Linked DNA regions of Homo sapiens: region 2 is linked to region 1. The links are contacts of gene promoters, found by promoter capture Hi-C in blood cells and fetal thymus (Javierre and others, 2016). All regions are on one chromosome and are shown on one strand. The core of a region is centred on a gene start or on the middle of the fragment in contact, and the rest is flanking DNA. Distances in the headings are between cores, read along the strand shown.

Region 1 (6,686 bases), core at 2,561-5,060:
AAGATCAACAACTGGATCGTCCAGCTTTCGAAAATCATTCCAGACTGTAACGCAGACAACAGCAAGACGGGAGCGGTGAGCACCCCGGACCCTCAGTGTCTGCGGTGGTCCCGGCCCCCGACCCTTGCATGCAGAAAGTCCAACAGCCATGGGGCTCGGGAGTCATCCCTGGGGTGGAGGCCGGTGGGCGGTGCCTGCCCTAAGGCTCCTGGTCCCCTCGCCCCCCAGAGTAAAGGAGGGATCCTGTCCAAGGCCTGCGATTACATCCGGGAGTTGCGCCAGACCAACCAGCGCATGCAGGAGACCTTCAAAGAGGCCGAGCGGCTGCAGATGGACAACGAGCTCCTGAGGCAGCAGGTGGGTGCGGGGCCTGGAGCGGGTCAGGGCCCAGGAGCCCCAGATGCAAGGCGCTGGCCCTCAGCTCCCTTGACCTCCGTCGTGTCCGCCAGATCGAGGAGCTGAAGAATGAGAACGCCCTGCTTCGAGCCCAGCTGCAGCAGCACAACCTGGAGATGGTGGGCGAGGGCACCCGGCAGTGACGCCCGCCACCACCACGCAGCCGCCGCCGCCCACGCCGGCCTCTGCTGCCCCCTTCCCCAGCCCTTAGCACAGAGAGGGACACATGCCCCTCCCCCAGCTGCGTTTTTTTATAGTAGATTTTTAACAAAAAACGGGGAGAAATAATGCATTTCTGTGGATACAGTGCCCACCGCCCTCCTCCACTTGGAAACGGTATCCTCCCTGCCCATCCGTCTGTCTGTCGCCCTTCTCCCGGCCCTCACTAAGCCCCGGCACTTCTAGTGGTCTCACCTGGAGGCAAGAGGGAGGGGACAGAGGCCCTGCCACGTCCCGCTGCCTCCTGCTCTCTGGAGGTACTGAGACAGGGTGCTGATGGGAAGGAGGGGAGCCTTTGGGGGGCCACCCGGGGCCTGGACCTATGCAGGGAGGCCACGTCCCACCCCACCTCTTGTTTCTGGGTCCCTGCTCCCCTTTGGGGGTGTGTGTGTGTGTTTTAATTTTCTTTATGGAAAAATTGACAAAAAAAAAATAGAGAGAGAGGTATTTAACTGCAATAAACTGGCCCCATGTGGCCCCCGCCTTGTCTGCTTGTGTGTTTGTCCATCTCAGGAGTGGGGAGGGGGCCTGGGGTCTGCAGAGCTCCACGAGGCATGGTTCTGCTGTTGTGCACATGGCTGTGCATGGTCCCTGCCAGCTGCACCACCCATTACCCAGTGGTTGGTTGGATGGATGGAGGAATTAAGGAATGAATGTCCCCTTTGAGGCCCTAGACGTGCATGAGGGTGTGGGGAGCTGGGGTCAAGGACATGTCCCATGTTGGAGGAGAGGCAGGGGTCTCCGTGTCAACAGTTCCTGAAAACACAACCAGCCCCTGGCCCTGCCCTGCTGGGCCAAAGCCCTCCCCTCTGCACCAGCCAATAGTGGGGCCTGGCCTTGAGCCCCTCACCCCCAGGGAGGGCAGATGGCCAGGGCGCCAAGCTTGGCCCGTCAGCCTGTCGCCTTGCACCAAGGCTCTGGCGCCTGTGCTGTGACCCCTGCCCCTGCTGATGATGAAACCTGTCCTCAGCTGAGATGCAGCGATGCCTGGTAGGGCTGGGGGCTGCTCCTGTGTCTCCCCAGGTGAGCACACCCCTATTCACTGGGCCCTGCTTCAGCCTGCAGCACCCTTCAACTCCCAGGAGCTGGGCTTGCCACTCTGCTCACCTTGTGGAGCTCCATCTGCCTTTCCTCCCCAATTCCCCCACTCCCTGCACTCGTCTCTTCCCACAAGAGCCCTGTCTCCTTTTCCTAGCTATTCCCATCTGAGGCCATCTTTATTCATTTAGTTTTTAGAGACAGGGTTTCACTCTCACCCAGGCTGGGGTGCAGTGGCACACAATCACGGCTCACTGCAGCCTTGACCAACTACAGGTGCGTAGCACCACAGCCAAGTTTTTGTATAGATGGGGTCTCGCTTTGTTACCCAGGCTGTGACAAGAGGAGCCTCCCACGTGGTGTGGATGAGGAGGCAGATGGCAGGGCCTGTGCATTTCTGTGCTTGAGTGGGCCTTGAAAGTGGTTCAGCAACCAGGAAGAAGTGTTCATTCCTCGACAACAACATCCCCGGGCTCTGGTGACTTGGCTGACACTGGATGGCCCTGGAATGAAAAAGGCAAAGAGGCAAAATGTGCAAGGGCCCATCTGGAACCAAGGTTTGTTGATCCCCTGGGCCGTGTGCACCCTGAGCTGGGCCTGGTAGTGGAAAGGAATGAAGGCACTGCAGTCAGGCAGCCTGGGTTCATCCCCCAGCTAGTGGTGTCCTAAGGAACCGGCTCCCCAAAAACATCCCTGGCTTGTAGTGCTTGCCAATTTCTGGGTGTCAAGACTCCCACTGCTGCTGATTTCAGGATACCAGCATGATGCCACTGAATGCAGAGTTTCGAGATGTGCATGGTCTGCTATGTTGAGCCAGGTCTAGCATACCGCTGTGCCCTGCTGTGTTTTAGGGGAGATGGGGAAACCTGGTGGGTAAGAGCAAAAGCCCTGGAGTCAGGCTGTCCAGGCTAGAATCTCAGCTCTGCCTCTGGCTGAGCAAGCTTGGGCCATGCCCTGATCTCTGCCTTCAGTGCCTTTTCTGTAAAGTGAAGGAAATGAGTGTCCGACGGGGAGGAGGTTCCTAAAAGGGAGCAGGGTCTGGGGAGCCCAGGCCTCTGGGGTTGGGTGACTGAGAAGGCAGCCCCTGAATACAGAGCAGAGCTGAAGGTGGGGCAGTAAGTGCTGCTGGGAGAACAGGCAGCACAGGCTGAGTTGGTGCAGAAGTGAGTCAACATATGTGCCATCGTATAAAATGTACTCATCGGACTGTAGATGTTAGCTATTACTATTACTGCTATTTTATGTTTTATAGACAGGGTCTCACTCTGTCACCCAGGCTGGAGTGCAGTCACACAATCATAGCTCACTGCAACCTCAGCCTCCTGGGCTTAAGCGATCTGCCTCAGCCTCCCAAGTAGCTGGGACTACAGATGTGTGCCACCACGCCTGGCTAAATTTGTTTAAAATTTTTTTTGTAGAGATGGGGTCTCCCTATGTTGCCCAGGCTAGTCTTGAACTTCTGGGCTCAAGCGACCCTCCTGCCTTGGCCTCCCAAATTGCTGGGATTACAGGCATAAGCCACTGTGCTGGGCCATATTACTGCTGTCATTTATGGCCAAAAGTTTGCTCAAACATTTTCCAGTTACCAGAGCCACATCTCAAGGGTCTGACACTGGGAAAACACCACGTGCGGATCGGGCACACGCTGATGCTTGCCCTGCTCAGGGCTATCTAGTGTTCCCTGCCAGAACCTATGCACGTGTGGTGAGAGCTTAAAGCAATGGATGCTTCCCCCAACATGCCAGACACTCCTGAGGAGCCTGGCGGCTGCTGGCCATGCCCCGTGTGCATGTAGGCGATGGGGAAGTGAGTGGAGGAGAGCGGAACCTTGATTCTGCTCATCAAACTGCTTAACCGCTGAAGCAAAAGGGGGAACTTTTTTCCCGATCAGCAGAATGACATCGTGATGGGGAAAGGGCTCCCCAGATGGCTGGTGAGCAGTGTGTGTCTGTGACCCCGTCTGCCCCACCCCCTGAACACACCTCTGCCGGCTGAGGGTGACACAACCCTGTTCCCTGTCGCTCTGTTCCCGCTTATCTCTCCCGCCTTTTCGGCGCCACCACCTTCTTGGAAATGAGACAGAGCAAAGGGGAGGGGGCTCAGACCACCGCCTCCCCTGGCAGGCCCCATAAAAGCGACTGTCACTCGGTCCCAGACACCAGAGCAAGCTCAAGACCCAGCAGTGGGACAGCCAGACAGACGGCACGATGGCACTGAGCTCCCAGATCTGGGCCGCTTGCCTCCTGCTCCTCCTCCTCCTCGCCAGCCTGACCAGTGGCTCTGTTTTCCCACAACAGGTGAGAGCCCAGTGGCCTGGGTCCTTAGCAGGGCAGCAGGGATGGGAGAGCCAGGCCTCAGCCTAGGGCACTGGAGACACCCGAGCACTGAGCAGAGCTCAGGACGTCTCAGGAGTACTGGCAGCTGAACAGGAACCAGGACAGGCACGGTGGCTCATGCCTGTAATCCCAGCACTTTGGGAGGTTGAGGCAGGCAGCCCACTTGAGGTCAGTTTGAGACCAGCCTGGCCAACATGGTAAAACCCCGTCTCTACTAAAAATACAAAAGTTAGCCAGGCTTGGTGGCAGGTGCCTGTAATCCCAGCTACTCGGGAGACTGAGGCAGGAGAATTGCTTGAACCCGCAAGGTGGAGGTTGCACAGTGAGCTGAGATTGCACCACTGCACTCCAGCCTGGCAACAGAGCAAGACTCCATCTCCAAAAAAGAACAGAAATCAATGAAGCACCGAGTGACAGGGACTGGAAGGTCCTAATTCCATGGGTATTTACGGAACCCCTACGCCGTGTGGAGTCTTATTCTAGACAGTGGGGACGAGGCCATGAACAAGGTAGATGAGAGAGGAGATTTCTCCATCCTGGTCAGGGAATTTGTTAAAGACTGATGAAAACATGAATAAATAATTGTGTCTAGTACATTCTATTCGTGAATCTCATAACAGACAGTGGTAGAGTGACCGTGACCCATTCGCCACACAGTAGAGTCACTTTTTTGGTTTGTTTTTTAGAGACAGGGTCTTCCTCTGTTGCTGAGGCTGGAGTGCAGTGGTGCAGTCATAGTTCACTGCAGCCTCAACCTCCTGTGCTCAAGCAATCCTCCCACCTCAGCGTCCCAAGTAGCTGGGACAGCAGGCACATGCCACGGGTTGGGGGACCACAGGCATGGTCAAGGGGCTGGCAGTCAAGCAAGTGTTTCATGAGAAAGTGACAGTTGACCTTCGTCTTGGAGGGTGAGAGATGGAGGCAGCAAAGACCTAAGGAGAGGACAAGCCAGCATAGCCCAGGGTCAGGCTGAACAAGAGGAGATGGTGGGACTTGGGGATAAGGCTGAGGGGTGGGCAGTCCCTAAGTCTTGTGGGCAACCATGCAGACACTGATTTTTCCTTGGAATAAAGAGGAAGCCCCCATAAGCTTTTTTTTTTTTTTCTGAGATAGGGTCTCGCTCTGTCGTTCAGGCTGGTGTGCAGTGGCATCATCTGGGCTCACTGCAACCTCCGCCTCCCGGGTTCAAGCAATTCTCCTGCCTCAGCTTCCCGAGCAGCTGGGATTACAGGCGGCTGCCACCACGCCCGGCTAATTTTTGTTTTTTTAGTAGAGACAGGGTTTCACCATGTTGGCCAGACTGGTCTTGAACTCCTGACCTCAGGTGATTCTCCCACCTCGGCTTCCCAAAGTGCTGGGATTACAGGCGTGAGCCACTGCGCCCAGCCTCCTGTAGGTTTTTAAAATGGAGAAAACCACAATCTCACTGGCCATGTTTTAAAAAACTTAATCTGCCAGTCAGGCACCATGGCTCACACCTGTAATCCCAGAGTTTTGGGAGGCCAAGGTAGGAAGATCAGTTGAGCCCAGGAGTTCAAGACCAGCTTGGGCAACACAACCAGACCCCACCTCTACAAAAAATTAAAAAATTAGCCGGGTGTGGTGGCGTGCACCTGCTGTCCCAGCTACTCGGGAAGCTGAGGCGGGAGCATCGCTTGAGCACAGGAGGTCAAGGCTGCAGGGAGCTATGACTGTGCCACTGCACTCTGGCCTGGGCAACAGAGGAAGACTCTGTCTAAAAAACAAACAAAAAAAGTGACTCTGCTGTGTGGCAAATGGATTGAGGGGCAAGAATGCAGGGAGGTGTGTTAGGAGGCTGGCACTGGCATCCAGGCAGGGGAAGGTGATATCCCAAAGAAGAGTAGCAGCTGTGGAAAGAGGAGGAGGCGGATCTGGGAGGTTTTTTTTTTTAGGAAAAGCCGCCCATGGGAAGGTGAGCAGAAGCAAGAAAGCAAGGCCCCTCCTAAGAGTCCATTTGAGCTCTGGGTTTAAACCACTTGGAGAGGAGCAGGTTGCCGGGAGCCAGTCTCAGAGGTCCACTGGGCCCCCTGCCATCCTCTGCACCCCCTTCTGCTTTCACAGACGGGACAACTTGCAGAGCTGCAACCCCAGGACAGAGCTGGAGCCAGGGCCAGCTGGATGGTGAGCGCAACAGTGATGCCTTTCCTAGCCCCCTGCTCCCTCCCCATGCTAAGGCCGGTTCCCTGCTCACATTCCCTTCCTTCCCACAGCCCATGTTCCAGAGGCGAAGGAGGCGAGACACCCACTTCCCCATCTGCATTTTCTGCTGCGGCTGCTGTCATCGATCAAAGTGTGGGATGTGCTGCAAGACGTAGAACCTACCTGCCCTGCCCCCGTCCCCTCCCTTCCTTATTTATTCCTGCTGCCCCAGAACATAGGTCTTGGAATAAAATGGCTGGTTCTTTTGTTTTCCAAACCAGAGTGTCTGTTGTCCTTTCTCTCTGCCGAGTGTCTGTGCTAAGAGCTTGTCCTGACCCTGCCTTGCAAGCACCAGTGCTTGGTGGGTCATGTGGGGCTGGTGTGTCCTGGAGGTTGCCAGGAAAGTTGGTGAAGAAAATTTGTTTCTGTTCTCCCCCTTCATGTTGCAATAATAGGGGATGAAAGTTAATGTTTCCTCTCCTTGAGATCTTCCTAAAACAGCTGTAGAAATCAGTGCCTGTAAGGCAAGCTTGTCCA
Region 2 (6,831 bases), core at 819-3,318, 130 kb after region 1:
TAGAATCATGGTGGAAGGGAAAGCAAACAGGTCCTTCTTCACATGGCAGCAGCAAGAAGTGCAGAGCAAAATGGGAGAAGCCATCTGATAAAACCATTAGATCTCGTGAGAACTCACTCACTATCAGGAGAACAGCATGAGGGTAACCCACCCCATGATTCAATTACCTCCCACCTGGTTCCTCCCATGACACTTGGGATTATGGGAACTGCAATTCAAGATGAGATTTAGGTGGGGACACAGCCAAACCATATCACCATGCATGGCCAAATAATAAGTGTACAGGCCAAATAAACTATCACAAATATCACAGAGTGAACACACCTATTTAAGAAAAAGCAAAAAGTCTACCATATTATTTTGTGCTTTTTATTTCCCTCATCTTTTATTTTATTTTATTTTATTTTATTTTATTCTATTTTATTTTATTTTCAGACACAGTCTCACTCTGTTGCCCAGGCTGAAGTCAACGGCATGATCTCAGCTCACTGCAACCTCCACCTCCTGGGTTCAAGCAATTCTCGTGCCTCAGCCTCCCAAGTAGCTTGGATTACAGGTGTGTGCCACTATGCCTGGCTAATTTTGGCATTTTTATTAAAGACGGGGTTTCACCATGTTGACCAAGCTGGTCTTGAACTGCTGACCTTAGGTGATCCAACCACCTCGGCCTCCCAAAGTGCTGGTATTACAGGTGTGAGCCACCTTGCCAAGCCATCCCTCACCTTTTAATATTTCTTTTTTTCTTCTCTCTAGCCTTCTTTTGAGATTCAGTTCGTTTATTTCTTTTCTTTCTCATTTCATTTATTCCTCCACTGACTTGGAAACTGTATGTTCTGTTTCCATTATTTAGTGGTTATTTTAAACACTGTAAGATGGTAGGAGTTCCTCAATGAGTTACTCCCTCCCTCCCTTCCTTCTTCCCTTTAATACCACACATCAAGGAAAACCCAACCCAAGTAGCTTCGAACTATGTGAATCTAGGGCAGCAGTTTTCAAAGCACTGTCTGTGAGGTCAAAACTATTCATAATGCTATTAAAATGCTGATTGCTCTCTTCACCTTCATTATCTCACAAATAATGTGCACAGTGGAGGTTTTGAGAGCTACGTGACGTGATATCATGACGGAATGAATGCAGACCAGATAGGAAAATACAGCTGTCTTCTATTAAGCCAGGCATTAAAGAGATCTGCAAAAATGTAAAACAATGCCACTGTCACGAATTTTTTGAAGATATAGTTGTTTTTTCTAGGAACGTGTCATTTATATTAACATGTAATGGTTTTATGGTTATTATTATTATAAGATAAGTTAATACACATTTTTAAATTTTTCTGTTTTAACTTTGTTTTTTTTTTGTTTTTTTTTTTTGTTTTTTTTGATACGCAGTTTCACTCTTGTTGCCAAGGCTGGAGTACAGTGGTGTGATCTCGGCTCACCGCAACCTCTGCCTCCTGGCTTCAAGCGATTCTCCTGCCTCAGCCTCCCAAGTAGCTGAGATTACAGGCACAAGCCACCATGCCCGGCTAATTTTTGTATTTTTAGTAGAGACAGGGTTTCACCATGTTGGTCAGGCTGGTCTCGCACTCCTGACCTCATGATCTGCCCACCTCAGTCTCCCAAGGTCCTAGGATTATAGATATGAGCCACCACGCCTGGCAGGAATTTTCATTTTTGCTTTTCTTTCCTTTTTTTTCTTTTTTCTTTTTTTTTTCGAGACAGTGTCTCACTCTGCCACCCAGGGTGAGTGCAGTGGCATGAACACAACTCACTGCAGCCTCGTCTTCCCAGGCTCAAGCAACCCTCCCACCTCAGCCTCCCAAGTAGCTGGAACTACAGGTGCACGCCACCATGCTCAGCTAATTCTTGTATTTTTTGTGGAGATGGGGTTTTGCCATGTTGCCCGGGTTGGTCTCAAACTCCTAAGCTTAAAGCAATCCACCTGCCTCAGCCTCCCAAAGTGTTGGGATTAGAGGGGTGAGCCACCACACCCATCCCTTCAGTAATTTTCAAGAGTATAAACCGACCTTGAGATCCACAAGTTTGAGAATTGCTGACCTGGTGAGATGACAGACAGGATTACTCTGCTAAGTGCAATTGTGCACATATAAAACCTTCTGCTACCTGATGTGTCTTTAATGATTCGAAATTTCATAAAGTCTAATGCCACTTAACCTCTCAAAGTGAGTTTAAAGTTTGCCTGATAAAATGCAAAGCTTGTTGAGATATTAAATATGATACTTAACAATCAGAACTATTCCATGAGGAGATAAAGAAGTAACAAAGCCGGCTCAGATGGATGGGATGTAATTGCGCCGCACAGACCTGTATTCACCATGTTATGTTAGTTCCTGTTCTAAAGATGCTTTTTTTTTTTTTTTTTTTTTTTTTTTGAGACAGAGTCTCGCTCTGTAACCCAGACTGCTGCAGTGCAGTGGCATGAGCTTGGCTCACTGCAACCTCCGCCTCCCAGGCTCAAGCAATTCTTATGCCTCAGCTTCCCGAGTTGCTGGGATTACAGGCATGCGCCACCACACCTGGCAAATGTTTGTATTTTTAGTAGAGATGGGGTTTCACCATGTTGGCCAGGCTGGTCTTGAACTCCTGGCCTCAAGTGATTCATCAACCTCAGCCTCTCAAAGTGCTAGAATTACAGGTTTGAGCCACCGCGCCTGGCCTAAGGATTGTTTAAATTGGAGTTTTTCTTCTTGTTTTATGGGGAAGGATTACTTCATCTACAATTAGGTGGAATATTAACCCAAACTATATGTAGGATTTCCAATCTTAGAGGCTATAGGAACTGGGGGAGAAGGAAAGCATAATACTAATTATATTTGTCCTATGTCATCCTAGGGAAAGTGCATATTTAATTCCTGTCAGCAAAGATTAAAGAAAGATTTTCAGGGCAAAAGTTATAAACAGGCTTAGTGTGTTTTATTTTGAACGGGGGAATTCACAAAGCCTTTGTGAAAGCCTCAATTTTACTGTTAGACTACTTGATAGCACCTAGTTAATATAAGCTAGGGCGATTCAACTAGTTCCATTGCACCTCCCGGTAAATAAATGGTTCCTGAGGCATTGTGTTAAGCGAGGAATGGAAGTTTGAAGGTTACCGGCAAGGCTCCTTCAGCCCTCTCCGGTTTTCAGGTTAATGGTGGGGAGAGTGAGTGTCCACCAGAAAGGGACTGTGATGTGACGTTAGGTCACTTGATTTCTGTAAACTTATGGGAGACCTTTCTCCTAAAGATGGGCTCAAGATGCCACCATTTACAATGTTACTCTCAATGACCTTGGGGAAGTCCTGCTCCTAGGGGTGGGACACAGTGATAAGAGGGAGGGGTGTGCCGGGCATGGTGGCTCATGCCTGTAATTCCAGCACTTTGGGAGGCTGAGGCAGGCAGATCACCTGAGGCCAGGAGTTCAAGACCAGCCTGGCCAACATGGCAAAACCCCATCTCTACTAACAATATAAAAATTAGCTGGGCGTGGTGGTGTGCAGCTGTAATCCCAGCTACTTGAGAGGCTGAGACAGGAGAATCACTTGAATCCAAGAGGCAGAGGCTGTAGTGAGCCAAAATCATGCCATTGCACTCCAACCTGGGCAACAAGAGCAGACACTCCGTCTAAAGCAAACAACAACCAAAAAAAAAAAAAAAAAACACAAGAGGAAGGGGTGGAAGAGTGTACTGATTGTTGGACCCTGAGGATTGCAATTTTATCATAACATTCTCTACAGTCTCTTTTCAAAAATGAACCAGCAATCAGAGATGGCACCGATTGGTTTGGCCTTCTTAGCAACATCTCTCCCTTGTCCTCTGCCATGTGGTTTGGTGGAGCTGACTTTACCCCCAGCTCCTGCTCCAGGGGCAGGTGTGAAACCAGGACCCTGCTCATCTACAGTTCATCCTCTGACCACAGTGATGGTTCACACTTGGGTGCATGACTCAATCCAGACCAATGAAAGATGAACCCAGGCTGGGCATGGTGGCTCACATCTGTAATCCCAGCACATGGGAAGGCTGAGGCAGGCGAATCAGTTGAGGTCAGGAGTTTGAGACCAGCCAGGCTAACTTGGCGAAACCCTGTCTCTACTAAAAATACAAAAATGAGCTGGGCGTGGTGGTGCACACCTGTAATCCCAGCTACTTGGGAGGCTGAGGCGGAAGAATCACTTGAACACGGGATGTGGAGGTTGCAGTGAGCCAAGACCATGCCACTGCACACTCCAGCCTGGGTGACAGAGTGCACCCACTGTGGATCCAGCCTTTTTTTTTTTTTTTTTTTTTGAGACAGAGTCTCACCAGGCTTGAGTGCAGTGGCGTTAATCTTGGCTCACTGCAACCTCTGCCTCCCAGGTTCAAGCAATTCTCCTGCCTCAGCCTCCTGAGTAGCTAGGACTAGAGGCGCGCACCACCCCGCCCAGCTAATTTTTGTATTTTTAGTAGAGACGGGGATTCACCATGTTGGCCAGGATGGTCTCGATCTCTTGACCTCATGATCCACCCACCTTGGCCTCCCAAAGTGCTGGGATTATAGGCATGAACCACCGCACCTGGCCAGCCCTTCTCTTTTAACCACCAGGAGAAAGAACCTCTCTTCTACTGATCTTGAACTTGAAGGCTGGTCCCTCTCTTCTGGGGGCCATTGTGAAGAGAGGCTGCCTAAGCCTGAAGTCAACTTAAAGGAAGGTGAAACAGAGAAAAACCACACATTCAGGCATTTGATGTCCTAAAGCAGATCTACTCTGGGGATTTTTAGATTTGAAAACCAAATATTCTCCTTCCTTAGCTTAAAGCAAGTTTGAAGCTGAGATGGACATAATGTAATTGCTCTGCACAAGCCTGTATATTCATTGCTTTATGCTCATCCTTGTTCTAAAGATTAGCCTTTTGCCCATTTTCTAATTGAATTGCTTGATTGTGTTTTGTTTTACTATTGAGTTTTGTGAGACATTTATTTAGAGTGTCTCGCTCTGTTGTCCAGGCTGGGGTGCAGTGGCATGATCTCAGCTCACTGCAACCTCCGCCTCCCGGGTTCAAGTGATCCTCCCTCTTCAACCTCCTGAGTAGCTGGGATTACGAGTGTACACCATCACACCTGGCTAATTTTTGTATTTTTAGTAGAAATGGGGTTTCACCATGTTGGCCAGGCTGGTCTCAAACTCCTGACCTCCTCAAGTTGATCAGCCCACCCCGGCCTCCCGAAGTGTTGGGATTACAGGCGTGAGCCACTGCACCAGCCAACACTGAGTCGTATTTCTTTAGATTTTTGTGATTGATGTTCCCATTATGCTTCTCTCTCACTGAATCTCCTACCTTCTTCATCAGAGGCAGCGTCATACTGGACTTTAAGTGCATCCTTCCTGTCCATGATTTTAAATTGTACCTTGCAAATATACTTTGCACCTAAACACTGTTTAGTATTCTTTTGCGTTTTTTCAAATATCCATAAATACCTATAGTACAAGTCATTCTGCAACTAGCTACTTTCTACCCCAAATCATCCCTTTGCTATCTGGCCTCCATCACTAAACCTTACATATCTCATTGATTTATTTTGTCTGCTCTAGCAGTCCATCATATTAATAAGACGAGTTTTATTTTTTCCATTCTACTATTGATAGACATTTAAATCACTTCCCATTCTTTGCCAGCATGACAATGCTGCTTTGAACATCCCTGTGTGTGTCTCTTCGCGCACACGTGGAAGAGTTCTTCCACTGGTAGGCACAGCATTTGCATTCTCCATTTCAGTAAAAGCTGCCAAGGTCCTCTTCAACGTGATGGCGTAAATCCAGCTCTTTCTGCAAGAAGGCTCACCAGCCTTCCCACCAGCTCTTCTCCCCACCCCAGCCCTGCAGCCCTGCAGCCTGACCCTAGGTAATGAGTGGTGGGGAGTGACCCAGGCATGCACGACCTGCCCAGAGGAAAGGGAGTTCAAAGAAGGACCCGAGACCCTCACAGGAACCTAGCAGATTGGCACAAGTGCCAGATGTATCCAGGACAGACACTTTCCCCAGGACTCCAGGGGTAAAGGAGTGCCCCACCTCTCCACTCCTTGCCTTTCTTAACTGAATTCAGATTGTCGTGAACATTCAAGAAAAGCATTGTGGCTGACTTCCAAGGTTACTACTTGAGTCCATCACTACAGCAGTTACTACTCTTACTGCTCCAGACCGTCATTACAGCAGTTACTACTGTTACCACTTGAGACCATCCTTACAAGACTGAAGGAAGGGAGGAACGTAGAAATGAAAACCAAGGAAAAAAAGAAACTGCTTTAAGTAAAGGCTAGCATGGGGAAGAAGAGAGCTCCCCGCTTCTAGTGAGCAAAGGCAGCCCCCTTATTTATTGGGTAACAAGAGCACGAGGAGGTGGCAACAATTGGTCAGCTGCTTAATTGATCAGAGGTTCATGTTGTTACTGACAGGCTTCTATTATGCCTAATCATAAGAAACATTTGTTCAGCTTCCAACAAAGCTGAAGTTTAAATGATGCAATTACATTCAGCACAGAGGAGTATCTCCCCCAATCCCACCATATAAAGAGAAAGCACATGCATGCAGGAGAGAAACAGTGAATGGAAGGCTAGGAAATCTTGGTCTTGGAGGAGAGTGCAGATTGGAGATAGAGGGAAGGGGAAAATAAGATGCTGGGATCTTGAGGGAGGATGTGGGGTGGTGGCCAAGCTCCCTGGTTCATGGGGATGAGAATGAAGCCTCTGTTGGCTCTGGGTCATGTGACATGGGCCAAGATAAGACATGGTTCCTGCAGAGAGATGGAGCGTGGTCTGTCTGTCTTGTGCTCATGTGTCTGTGTCAAATGGCTTCCGA

The links. The method cuts DNA at HindIII sites, captures the fragments that hold promoters and counts their contacts. A CHiCAGO score of 5 or more calls a contact.
Region 2: a contact is called between a fragment that was not itself captured here and the fragment with the promoter of HAMP in region 1, in 2 of 17 cell types (monocytes and total B cells). The highest score is 6.4, in monocytes.

Annotation. Positions count from the first base shown.
Region 1 is chr19:35,278,718-35,285,403 of GRCh38, forward strand. HAMP (hepcidin antimicrobial peptide) reads left to right here and starts at 3,811. Exons shown (of 3, transcript NM_021175.4): 1 at 3,811-3,950; 2 at 6,072-6,131; 3 at 6,221-6,426. The coding sequence starts at 3,861. The coding sequence ends at 6,325. USF2 (upstream transcription factor 2, c-fos interacting) reads left to right here. Exons shown (of 10, transcript NM_003367.4): 8 at 1-75; 9 at 229-357; 10 at 450-1,104. The coding sequence ends at 539. RefSeq lists enhancers at 1,305-1,804, 1,477-1,976, 1,483-1,627, 2,067-2,146, 3,673-4,182 and 1 more and a cis regulatory region at 1,548-1,561. The HindIII fragment of the contact is 2,484 bases long and covers 2,593-5,076 here.
Region 2 is chr19:35,410,727-35,417,557 of GRCh38, forward strand. LINC01531 (long intergenic non-protein coding RNA 1531) reads left to right here. Exons shown (of 5, transcript NR_040046.1): 4 at 436-556; 5 at 5,753-6,114. It also overlaps the pseudogene RN7SL491P. Among named protein-coding and RNA genes, the nearest start is that of LINC01531, 8.5 kb to the left of the region's middle. The HindIII fragment of the contact is 289 bases long and covers 1,925-2,213 here.